Linked DNA regions of Homo sapiens: all the other regions are linked to region 1. Evidence: promoter capture Hi-C in 16 types of primary human blood cells and fetal thymus (Javierre and others, 2016). All regions are on one chromosome and are shown on one strand. The core of a region is centred on a gene start or on the middle of the fragment in contact, and the rest is flanking DNA. Distances in the headings are between cores, read along the strand shown.

Region 1 (4,271 bases), core at 794-3,293:
ATCTCCTCCACCTGCCTTCCCACTTCCCGCCCCTATGCTCCCTCCTGGCTTCTATTTTAAATTTCATTGCAGCAGACACCTCTCTCCAGATTTCATGCCTCAGCAAGGGCACATACCATTCCTCCAGCGAAACCATTCTTTTCCTTTTCACCATTTCATCCTTTTGACTTTCAAACTTCTCACCAACTGGGTGCGTTTTATCCTCCTCTGGTGCCAGCCTTCCTTCTTTGTTAGATACCTAGCATTTACAGCCATCTCTAGGCAGATGTGTGGTCGTTCAGTAAGAAGAGAACACATGTTTTGTGTGCTCACTCCAATGGGTGTCTGGCTTATAAAGTAGGTGTGGTCCAATTCCTGTCTGCTGCCACCATTGTGCCCTGCTCTGGCCAACAGCTCAGAGAGGTTTGCTCTCTCCACTGGCCCTGAAGACCTCCCATGTTCCCCCAGTTCAAACTTCACCTCTCTCATGAGGCTTTCCCTCACTGCATCCTCTACCTCTCTCATGAGGCTTTCCCTCACTGCATCCTCTACTCTCTCATGAGGCTTTCCCTCACTGCATCCTCTACCTCTCTCATGAGGCTTTCCCTCACTGCATCCTGTACCCTCACAGCCCTTAACACACCACTCAACAAATACGCATTTGCATCTAACCAAATGTGACCCTGTGTCCATATTTATGTTTCTGTATATTAATGCATTCTTGTTTCCCCTGCCAGGCTCCATTAGTCTGGTTAGCTTTTGCCCAGGTATCAGGAAATGAGGGGATGGGGAGAGGCTCAGAATCCAAACTTGACAGAGTAGCTGTCCACCACTAGGTGATGGTGGGGTCAGGCATCTCCTTAGGCTGGCTGTGCTTCTGTTTTCTTTTCAATGGAGATACCGGCTTTCTTGGAAACACATGTGATGGTGGGCTAGCCGTAGAAGCACTACTATAATAACGATGTGATCTTTGTCATTTCACTTCTTCAGACCTCATTAGTCCTACATATAAAAAGAGGAAGTTAAACTAGCTCAAATGTACTGAGCAGAAGGAATGGAGACTGTGCAGCTGAGGGAGCGGGGCCTGAAAAATAAGTGTGGGTTGTGTCGCCACACACCGGGACTCCTGGGATCCCGACCTCTTTTAGCGGTCAAAAGAGGGCAAACTAGTTGCCTAACAATATTTAGAGCTATTTCTCTCTTTTCACTCTCATTCTACGAGTGTACACCGGAGTTTCTAGCAACTACATGGTATGTGAAGTCATCCCTCTAATGATAACCTGTAATGAGGTTACTACTGTGATTTTTAATGAATACATTTTAAAATGTTTTAATTTCTTCAAAAGCAAACATTAATCTCTACATATGTGTGTATACATATACAGGAAATGTATGTATATATGAATATACATATATTCATTGTATATGTGTATATATATTCATACATAATATGTGTGTGTGTATATATATATATATTTACACATTTCCTACATAAATAAAAGTTCTTTAAGGTCCTAATAATTTTTAAGTGAAAAGGAGTCCTGGGACCAAAAAGTTTTGAGAATCACTGAACCAGATTTCTAGATCTTTAAGATCATTTATTCACTCAACAAATAATTGTGCCTCCTGTGGCCAGGCATTTTGCAGATACGGAGGATAATGTGGTGATAGCAACATGTTTCCTGCTCTGATAGAGTTTTACATTTGGGAGGGAAGAGACAAACGAATAAATTAACAAGATAATTTCTGAGAGCAGTAGGTTTAATGAAGCCGTAAAGCAGGACACATATCCCTGCACAATCTGTGCGCCTGCTCAGACGTAACACCCCGCAGCGCAGCAGGCAGATTCAGCGGCGTCGCCCCATAAGGGCCCGAGCCCTCTCAGTTGGCCTAGGACGGCGAGGGCGGGGCCTGCCCGCCCCCCTGGCGCTGGCGTCAGGTGACGTCACTGTGCCGCGCCAGCCAATCGTGGGCAGCCGGGGTCTAGGCACCACGGTGGCTGGCGGCCTGCGGGCGGCGCTGTGGCCCGTCGGGCGGCTCCACAGAGCCGCCCTAGCCTTCCGCCTTCCCCAAGCCAACGTCTCCGCCGTCGGCTCCGCGGCGCCGCCATGGCCGACGTGGAAGACGGAGAGGAAACCTGCGCCCTGGCCTCTCACTCCGGGAGCTCAGGCTCCAAGTCGGGAGGCGACAAGATGTTCTCCCTCAAGAAGTGGAACGCGGTGGCCATGTGGAGCTGGGACGTGGAGTGCGATACGTGCGCCATCTGCAGGGTCCAGGTGATGGGTAAGCGCTGCACGCGAGTCCAGGGCCGCCCTGCGGCCTCCGGGAGCCGACCTCGGGGTTGGGAAGGGACGGGCGTCCGTCAGAAGCCTCGGAAAGTGCCCTGCCTGGGAGAGTGGGTGGAGGTCGCCCTGCCCCGGCGCCGGAGGAACGCGGAGCCACGCTCCTGCTGCGGCTCCTGAGGGCTGCGGCCGCCGCCTGGGGCTGCGGGGTTGTGCAACAGGCGCCCTGCGCCGGGTGGTTGGTGTTCTAGGGAGAGAGACGGGCAATAAACGGAGTTAAACAAGGTAATTTCAGGTAGTGATGGGTGTGACCAAGAAAGTAAAACCGGGTGATTGTTGGGAACTAGCAGGAAACACTTCGGTTTGTGTGTCCAGCCCCAGCCCCACCTCTAAAAGCTCAACACAAGGTGGTCAGGGTAAAGGCCGTGATTCAGCAGTGAACTTTAATAGTCTTGGTCACCACCAAAGTGATGCTCCAGAGTCATCTTCCACAAAACGACACCCTTAGTTCTCCTCGAGGGACGCAGGAAAGTGTTCATAGCCATTGCATTTCCGGATTAGCTTACCGCCGCTCTTCGAATGGCTTTTAAATCTGGATTGATTTAAGACGGGTCAGATAGCACTAGCGTGGCTTGAAGGGAACAGTGTGGTTCAAGAATATCTAAGTTTCATGGAAGCTGAAGAATTGTAAGCCCTTTTTTCAGAAACGTAAAACTTCACCTCCATCACACCCCCCTCTCCATATTGGATGCCATTTCCTGGAGAAGATACTGTGCTGCTCTGAGTCATGCCTTTGTGGAGAACCCTCTTACAAATATGTCTTCTTTCTGTGATATTTTGAGTTAAAATATTAGACCAAGTGAAACTTTTCAGAACAGCTTAATCTTGTTATATTTTATATGGTTCTAAGAACTCAGACCACTTTGAAAAGCAGGTGCTATTTAAATGCAAGTTGTATTTTCAGATAGGGCATTTAAAATTACTATGAGACCCTCTTCAGTGGAATTCTTTATTGAGGGTAGTTAAAGAAAACGGACATTTCTATCGTTTGAAAACTGTGACTTGTCTTGAAAAATGAGAGAATTGGAGAACATACAGAGAATTGCTCACCTTAAGGGGGGTGAGACTGTAAACATACCAGAATCAAGAGATTTCGCAGTTTATGCTCTTTTGTCTTTTATTCCTAAGGGCTTGTTTCAAAGAGGATTTACAACAATTGGATTCAGATATTTTTATCTTTCTCTTTTGAAAGACCTTGATATTAGACATGACCCACTTATTTTACATGGATCACTTGAGCCCAGGAGTTTGAGACCAGCCTAGGCAACATCGCAGGACCCTGTCTGTACAATTAAAAATTAAAATAAAAAGCTGACCAGGCATGGTGGCCTCCAGCTACTCTGGAGGCTGAGGTGGGAGGATCCCTTGAGCCCAGGAGGTCGAGGCTACAGTGAGCCTTGTTCCTGCCACTGCCACTGCCACTATACTCCAGCTTGGGTGACAGAATGAGACCCTGTCTCAGCAACAAACAAACAAAACATATGAGGCTTTAAAAGTATCTAGTTTATTTGCCAGCAATACAGCTGCCCCTACCCCCACTTAGGAATCATAATTTCTAGTTTGGGAAGCATTTTTAACTGATCCAGGAGACTCTTTTTTTTTTTTTTTAAGACAAGTTTCGCTAAACATTTTATCTCCTAAATAAATTTCCTTTAGTTTAAAGGAAACTAAGCTTTCACTTAGTTCCTTTCCAGTTTAAAAATAATGTTCCCAAAGGGTATTTTCAAAAGATTTGTCTCCCAAAAAGCTATTTCCTCCCCAAAGGAAAAACATTTAAAGAGTAAGTGGAAATGTATAACCTGAAATAATGATTGAAACTTTGCAACAAATAAACTTTACTGAGAGATTTTAATGTAGGTCAAAGTATAGACTATAAATGACACATTTCATCATAAACTTTCTAATTATAGCAAGTATTCTGCTACTACAGGATCAGTCTTGCATATTTAC
Region 2 (4,271 bases), core at 867-3,366, 990 kb after region 1:
CTGATTTTCAACAAAGCAAACAAAAACATAAAGTGGGGGAAAAGACACCCTATTCAACAAATGGTGCTGGGATAATTGGCAAGCCACACGTAGGAGAATAAAACTGGATCTGCATCTCTCACCTTATACAAAAATAAACTCAAGATGGATCAAGAACTTAAATCTAAGACCTGAAACTATAAAAATTCTAGAAGATAACATCGGAAAACCCCTTGTAGACATTGGCTTAGGCAAGGATTTCATGACCAAGAACCCAAAAGCAAATGCAATGAAAAGAAAGATAAATAGCTGGGACTTGATTAAATGAAAGAGCTTTTGCATGGCAAAGGGAAGAGTTAGCAGAGTAAACAGACAACCCACAGAGTGGGAGAAAATCTTCATAATCTATGCATCTGACAAAGGACTACTATCCAGAATCTACAATGAATTCAAACAAATAATCAAGAAAAAAAAAATCCTAACAAAAACTGGGCTAAAAACATGAAAAGGGCTGGGGGCAGTGGCTCATGCTTGTAATCCCAGCACTTTGGGAGGCTGAGGCAGGCAGATCACCTGAGGTCTGGAGTTCGAGACCAGCCTGACCAACAGGGAGAAACACTGTCTCTACTAAAAATACAAAATTAGCCGGGTGTGGTGGCACATGCCGGTAATACCAGCTGGTCGGAAGGCTGAGGCAGGAGAATCACTTGAACCTGGGAGGCGGAAGTTGCGGTGAGCCAAGATCACGCCATTGCACTCCAGCCTGGGCAACAAGAGCAAAACTCTGTCTCAAGAAAAAACAAAAAAACATGAATAGACAATTCTCAAAAGAAGATACACAAATGGCCAACAAACATATGAAAAAATGCTCAAGATCACTAATGATCAGGGAATTCCAAGTCAAAACTGCTATGCCGTATGTACCACCCTACTTCCGCAAGAATGGCCATAATCAAAAAAATCAAAAAATAATAGCTGTTGGTGTGGATGCGGTGAAAAGGGAACACTTCTACATTACTGGTGGGACTGTAAACTAGTACACCACTATGGAAAACAGTGTGGAGATTCCTTAGAGAACTAAAAGTAGAACTACCATTTGATCCAGTAATCCCACTACTGGGTATCTACCCAGAGGAAAAGAAGTCATTACACGAAAAAGATACTTGCCCATGCATATTTATAGCAGCACAATTCGCAATTGCAAAAATGTGGAGCCAACCCAAATGCCCATGAATCAATGAGTGGATAAAGAAACTGTGATATATATATATATATATATATATGTGGTATATATATATGTGATATATATATAATGATGGAATACTACTCAGCCATAAAAAGGAATGAATAAATGGCATTCGCAGAAACCTGGATGGGACTGGAGACTATTATTCTTATTCTAAATGAAGTAACTCAGGAATGGAAAACCAAACATCGTATGTTCTCACTCACAAGTGAGAGCTAAGCTTTGAGGATGCAAAGGCATAGGAATGACACAATGGACTTTCGGGACTCGGGGAAAGGTTGGGAAGGGGGAGAGGGATAAAAGACTACAAAATTAGGTTCAGTGTATACTGCTCGATGATGGGTACATCAAAATCTCACAAATCATCACTAAAGAACTTACTCATGTAACCAAACACCACCTGTTCCTCAAAAACCTATGGAAATAATATGGAAATAAAAATTTATATATTTGTATAAATTATTTAAACATAATATAATTATATATCTATATATCCTTTATAAATGAGAGTTCATTTCCAGCCTAAAATGAGTACAACATACAAACCCACGAGTCTGGCTCTCCATTGTGCTTTAAAGCATAGTGCACCAGAATATGAAATAGCTGGACAATTCCACAAAGGATTTCGACTAAACATTAAGTCGTCAGAGACTCAATTAACATACTGCTCCATATTTGCTTAATTACCTTAAACCAGTACCCTGGGTGTGGAAAGGGACGATTGAGCGAAGTCTTCCTCAGACTGCGGTTCACCTCACCAGAGCGAAGGAAGCTGCAGCGGGCTCCAGGAGCCCAGTGCGTCCCCACCGCAGGCCCCACCCACCCACGCCCCGCTTGCCGCAGGCCCCGCCCACCCAAGCCCGCCCTTGCCGCAGGCTCCTCCCTAGTGTCGTCGCTACAGAGGAGCAGAGGATGACGTGAGGACAGAGTCGCGAACATCTCCTCGGAGCGCAGCTGGGCCAGCGGTTCCCACAGCCCTGGAGCCCAACGTGCGCAGAAGCGCCTCTTGGAGCTCCTCTCCCACAGATCTCTCGTCCTCTTCCTGGGCTAGGCCGCCCCAGGCGCGGCCCCTGCGACTCCTGGCACGGCCCCGTGCTCGGCTGCCGCCCTGGCGCGCGCCACACTGTCGTCCCCGGACGGGCGCGGACCGGCTCGGCCGGGGCGCCGGCGGCTGGGGAGGGGTCGCTGGCCCCGGGGCCGCGCATGCGCCGCCACCAACTTGGGGCTGTCAGTGGAGGGCGAGTGCTGGTTCTCAGGGGAGGCGACGCCCTTCGGGGCCAACGGGCCTCGAGCCGAGGCAGCAGTGGGAACGACTCATCCTTTTTCCAGCCCTGGGGCGTGGCTGGGGTCGGGGTCGGGGTCGGGGCCGGTGGGGGCCCCGCCCCCGTCTCCTGGCCTGCCCCCTTCATGGGCCGCGATGATGGCGGCCCTGTACCCGAGCACGGACCTCTCGGGCGCCTCCTCCTCCTCCCTGCCTTCCTCTCCATCCTCTTCCTCGCCGAACGAGGTGATGGCGCTGAAGGATGTGCGGGAGGTGAAGGAGGAGAATACGCTGAATGAGAAGCTTTTCTTGCTGGCGTGCGACAAGGGTGAGAGTTAGGCCCCTTTCTCCTCTGGACGCCCCTGTCCTCCAGACCTTTAGTCCTCTCCCCCGCCTCAACTTATATCGGGGCATTCCCTCTGTCTCAGGCGCCGAGTGTCTTCCCGCCTCGCCTGCTGCCTCAGGCGGTCTTCTCCTCACCGCCTCTGCCCTGTGAGTGTGGAGCTGGCGGGAGAGTGGAGCTGGGGCTGCGCCCTCGGAGCGCTGCACCGTCGGGGGTGGCTCTGGCCTTGGGGTCCGGGGTTTAGGTAGCGCCTTGGGAGCCCCGACCCCAGCGTTTTAGCGCCGCCCTTGCTACTGACCGCATGAATGACCTGGTCTTCTCTCTGGCTCGCAGTTCATTCCTTCCGGGAGTCGAGAGGCTAGTTTCCGACACTCCAGTCGGAAAATTCCGTCACCTTACCTTAGGATGCCTCGTATGGAGGGTTCTCATCACCTGGTTTTTGTTTTTCTTAAAAACAAAACCAGACCCTCTATTATTTAGCTTCACCTGACCAGTGCTTTAGCCAGTGACTGTTGACTGGCATTAATAACGGAATATCCTAGGTGGAGATACATGAAGTAAGGACGGGACGGAAGAAATTCTGCCTTAGTTGCCAAAACTTTCTCTGGATTTACGGAACGCCTTTGATTGTTAGTGCTTTTTATTGGAGAGAAAGATTTATTGCTCCCAGATCTTTCTTTGGGAGATAAAGATAGTGAAAAATAATTACAGGAATTACAAGGCAAAAATATGTGGAATATATTTAGCGCGTTATCCTTTTTTTAGTCTAGAAGTTAATCATTTTTATGGCCATATTAAGGCCATGTCACGCAATCATCCTTTGTAGTGATGTATATAACAAAAGGGATAGGAAATTGATTGCCCTAAGACTGCTTTTGTTTCCTACATGGAAACACTAAAATTTTTCTTTTTCCAAATTTATATGGCTGTACACTTAGGAAAACTCTGTTAGAAACATGCAAACTTCTGGAACAAACCCAAAGGGCAGTTTACACTATGAAAAGACTAACTACACAGGATTTTTGTTTGTTTGTTTGTATGTGTGAATGTGTAATTAATAAATGACAGCCTTCCTAACCTCTCCTCCTGCTTTTGAAATAGGATTTTATTTACATGATTTTTTGAAAACAATTGACATATAAACAAAGTCCACCTATGTCTGTGGTTGAGCCATTTTTATGTTCTTATGTAATAGTATTAAATAATATTATGAAAGCAATATTAATAATATTGTTAAAGTACACCATGGACACAACTTTGAGCAGTCTTTGAGATGTAAAGAAACAGAATATACATCTACAACGTCACAAAAATAGGGTCTGTGGATTATGTAAAATTATTTAGTATTGCTGGAGTGGGTTGCCTGAGTTCTCTTCCCTCAAAAGTTCTGAGAGAGGAAGGGGAGAAGATTGTGTTGTACTAAAATGAGTAAGTGCTGGCTC
Region 3 (4,271 bases), core at 1,023-3,522, 540 kb after region 1:
TATGAAGCAGAGAGCAAAGCTTCACCAGACGCTGAATCTGCTGGTGCCTTGATCTTGGACTTCCCAGACTCCAGAACTATGAGAAATAAATTTCTATTATATATAAATTACTCAGTCTAAGGTATTTTGTTATAGCAGCAGAAGGGACTAAGACAGCCCCCAGCTAATACTTACGAAACTGCATTGAATGAACTCCTTTGAGCCGTGTCACAAGTTTTCCCTTCTGCATGGCCAGCCCCACTGATTCTGCCCCTGGTCCTTGTTGACATTTCCTCCAATAATGTCCTGCCCTCTGGCAGAAGGCTCACCTTTTTGGCACTGCATCATCTCTCACATGCTTCAAGGGACACCTTTGAGTGGGGATGCCACATTGGCCTGCCTGCTCTTACATGTCATAGGCCCAGTAACCTGAGTCACAGACGTGGGAACATACTCCTGGAAGAAGCCTATGTGAAGAGCCCCTACAGACAACACTGCAGCTAGAATGCTGTATGCCCCTTAAGTCTTGCTACAAGTGGTCAAAGCCAGTTTTGAGATTCTGCTTTATTTTTTAAAACATTGATTCATTTACTCTTAGTCACATTCTTTAAAAATAATAGATGTGGAGGGATACAAAACCTGGAAAGTTGATACCTAGAGGTCTGTACTATCTTAGCCTGTCCATCTGTAGGTTTAGTCACACTTGATCACAAATTCCCTCATCTCAAGTGAAATAAAGATAGACTTATTGTCATAAATGATAGTTCTTGCCATTCTGGTGCTGCAAATAGTTTGTTCAGGGCTGTTGCACCAGAAGTTTGGGAGTTGGATAGGAAAAGACATTGATCCATTTTGGGAAGTCATCCTTGAAGTCTTCCTTGATGTTAATCTGGATTCTTGACAAAGTTCTCCTGTACCTTCTTTTGAAAAAGCAAATGGTTTATTTTTAAATTTAATTTTTATTTTTGGAGACAGAGTCTCATTCTCTTGCCCAGGCTGGAGTGCAGTGGCGTGATCTCAGCCACTGAATCTCTACCTCCCGGGCTCAAGTGATTCTCATGCCTCAGCCTCCCGAGTATCTGTGATTACACTAGTGTGCCATCATGCCCAGCTAATTTTTGTATTTTTAGTGGAGACAAGGTTTCACCATGTTGCCTGGCTGGTCTCAGACTTCTGACCTCAAGTGAGCTACCACACCTAGTCAGAAAAGCACATAGTTTTGCTAGTGCTCCCCACTCATGCAATGTGGCATAATAGTTATTCTTTGACATTCTAAGCAGAGCAGATGACTCAACACGGTGCTCCCAGGAGCTCTTCCAAGATTAAAATATTTCCATAGATGGATAGATGAATGGATATATAATAAAGCAAGTACAGTAAAATGTAAGTGGTAGAATCTAGGTGGTGGGTACATGGATGTTCATCTGATAATATTTTAAACTTAGATTTATCTATTAGAAAATTTTCATAATAAAACATTGGAAAAAAGAAAAAAGCCCTTAACAGTGCCTGTTGCTGTCAGTGGCTATTATCAGCTAAGACCTTTAGCACTAAGAGTTAAGAAGAAATTACTTAGGCAGATATTGAGGGTATTGGTAAGGTTTTCCTTTTAATAAAAAGCAGCCCTCAAATCATTTTCTTTTCTAACAAAGAACAGCCTGTAAAATTGAGCTACAGACATGGACAAGCAAGCTGGAAGCTTGCACAGGTGAATGCCAGCAGTTGTGCCAATAGAAAAATACTATGTGGGACTAGGCAAGTTCAAAATGGTGGCTCCATCTTCCCTTCTCTTTGTCAGTCATGTGTATAGTAAGGAGCAGACAAGATGGCGCTGGCCAAGTGGAAAGCCCATTTCCATAATAAGATTAGGGTGGGGAAACCAGCCTTCCCTGTGGGCTATGTAAACATCAAACCTGATTGAACGGATCAGTGGGCTTTACCAAGCCTGCCTATAAAATCTGCTATGGTCTGCCACTTTTCCCTTTTTCGGACACCTCTCTCTCACAAGAAGCTGCTCTTCTCTCTCCTTTCTTCTGCCTATTAAACTTTCTGCTCCTTAACCCACCCACATGTGTTTGTGTCCTTAATTTTCTTGGCACGAGACAATGAACCCTGGGTATTTACCCTAGACAACAATGCCGCTTCATCTGGGGGCTCATGCAGGATCAGAACCAAAATGGAAAGTATAAACATCAGAGCAGTAAGTGTGGAGCAAACCTCAAATCTGACCTTTAATATCAAGGCTCTCAGACTCCATTTAAAAATGCTTCAAACCAGTTTCCTTTCATGGAACTCAATCGCTTAGTTCCTCTGGTTCCATGGCTGGGGGGGTCACACTCCCAGCCATTGCATGGGGCTGGGAGAGGTCCTGGAGCAACTAAGGATTTCTGGCCAGGGCACACCCTGGTGTTATCCAGAGGCTTCTGGGTTGAACCCAGCCTTTGGCCACCCATCTGAGTGCTGGCAAAAAGGATCTCTAGCTATCCTGTTACAAAATTTTCCTCCTCTTCTATCCATGGTCACCATGTCTCCTATTTTCTCTGCATGCAATGTGCAGGAATTTTTATAGTTCAGGGAAGTAATCCTGTTAGGAAAGATCAGGAAATGCTGTAGTAACTGGAATATAGCTCAGGGGAATGCCATTGTGATTTCCTAGGAACAGAAAGTCTTCTCCCACAGTGAGCATTTCACCCTCTGCCCTTGATCTGGAAAGCACATGGCATCTCCAGGTCACTCTCTGCCCTTGAGCTGGAGAGCACGTGGCATTTTAAGGTCAATATCGCCACCTAGTGAACTAAAAATCATCTCCATGAGGCGTTGTCGGTCCTTTGACATAACACTGTACCTTCCCACTTCTTCTCCCATTTTGCACCTCTCTACTAGAGACCAAGCTTTATGCTGCTTCTGTGGATGGGAAAACTCTGCATTCAACAATTAGGAGCAAAATGTCCTCCAGAACCAAATTTTAGTTCCAATACTGTCCCATCAGCAGGAAAATCACTATTAGGTCCCTATGTTCCTTTAAGTCACCTATTTATGTCTCCAGTTAAAGCAATACTTATTAAGGGGATTTTAAGTCCAGAAGTTAATGAGAACCATTCTCTAGGGGGAAATGCTTCAGCATGGGCCATAATAGCAAAATATGGAGTTCAATCTAATACCCTCCAAAGGCAACGACCTTTTTTTTTTTTTTTTTGAGATGGAGTTTTTGCTCTTTCACTCAGGATGGAGTGAAGTGGTCCAATCTTGGCTCACTGCAACCTCTGCGCCCTGGGTTCAAGTGATTCTCCCCCCTCAACCTCCTGAGTAGCTGGAATTATAGGTGCCTGCCACCAAGACAGGTTAATTTTTTTTTTTTTTTTTGAGATGGAGTCTTGCTCTGTCGCCCAGGCTGGAGTGGAGTGGTGTGATCTCGGCTCACTGCAAGCTCCACCTCCCAGGTTCACACCATTCTCCTGCATCAGCCTCCCAAGTAGCTGGGATTACAGGCGCCCACCACCACGCCCGGCTAATTTTTTTTTTTTTTTTAGTAGAGATGGAGTTTCACTGTGTTAGCCAGGATGGTCTCGATCTCCTGACCTCGTGATCCGCCCACCTCGGCCTCCCAGAGTTCTGGGATTACAGGCGTGAGCCACCATAACCGGCCTAAGACTGGCTAATTTTTGTATTTTTAGTAGAGATGGGGTTTTGCCATGTTGGCCAGGTTGGTCTCGAACCAACCTGGGTGACTTCAGGTGACCCACATGACTCAGCCTCCCAAAGTGCTAGGATTACAGGCATGAGCCACTGTGCCCAGCTCCAAAGGCAACTATTACGTAGTCCTTCCCAATATCCATTTTTCAGGGAGGCACACAGATCACACAAGTCTAGGAAGTCAAAGGGAAATCACAGGCAGAGGACTAGAGTCACATGGGTAAGCGTGACTAATCTCAATTGCTTAGTTCCTCTGGTTCCATGGCTGGGGGGCGGTCACACTTACAACCATGGGTGGCGTGTTCAACAAGGTGCCAGGACCTAGGAACCAAGGAGGGAAAACAGCAGAGAGGACGCCCCCATTGTCTTTTCCTCCACACTTGGTCACACCAAAAGGAAGGAGACAAAAGGGATGCCTTTTTCTTGCTTCTCTTTCTAAATGGGTAACAAACCATCTTCAGCTTGCACCCCTCTGGGGTGCATCCTGAAGCACAGGGACTCCTTTAACCCTGAGACTTTGAAGGAAAAGTGGCTCACTTTCTTTTACACAAGGGCATGGCCTTCTTACTAGACCTTTGCAAGCATTGCACAATCAACCC

The links. Contacts are between HindIII fragments. The CHiCAGO score rates a contact against its expected background, and 5 or more counts as called.
Region 2: the fragment with the promoter of TRPC1 here is called in contact with the fragment with the promoter of RNF7 in region 1 in 3 of 17 cell types (total B cells, fetal thymus and total CD4 T cells); the score reaches 7.7 in total B cells.
Region 3: a fragment that was not itself captured here is called in contact with the fragment with the promoter of RNF7 in region 1 in 7 of 17 cell types (naive B cells, fetal thymus, naive CD4 T cells and 4 more); the score reaches 10.3 in naive B cells.

What each region holds. Positions count from the first base shown.
Region 1 is chr3:141,736,255-141,740,525 of GRCh38, forward strand. It overlaps RNF7 (ring finger protein 7), which reads left to right and starts at 2,044. Exons shown (of 3, transcript NM_014245.5): 1 at 2,044-2,262. The coding sequence starts at 2,088. RefSeq lists enhancers at 1,587-1,636, 1,677-1,726, 1,837-2,516, 2,077-2,316, 2,517-3,195 and silencers at 1,817-2,076, 2,337-2,516. The HindIII fragment of the contact is 15,473 bases long and covers 1-3,991 here.
Region 2 is chr3:142,721,918-142,726,188 of GRCh38, forward strand. TRPC1 (transient receptor potential cation channel subfamily C member 1) reads left to right here and starts at 2,117. Exons shown (of 13, transcript NM_001251845.2): 1 at 2,117-2,814. The coding sequence starts at 2,643. RefSeq lists a silencer at 2,361-2,410 and an enhancer at 2,669-3,535. The HindIII fragment of the contact is 1,344 bases long and covers 1,444-2,787 here.
Region 3 is chr3:142,277,423-142,281,693 of GRCh38, forward strand. No RefSeq gene overlaps it. Among named protein-coding and RNA genes, the nearest start is that of GK5, 54 kb to the left of the region's middle. The HindIII fragment of the contact is 1,192 bases long and covers 1,677-2,868 here.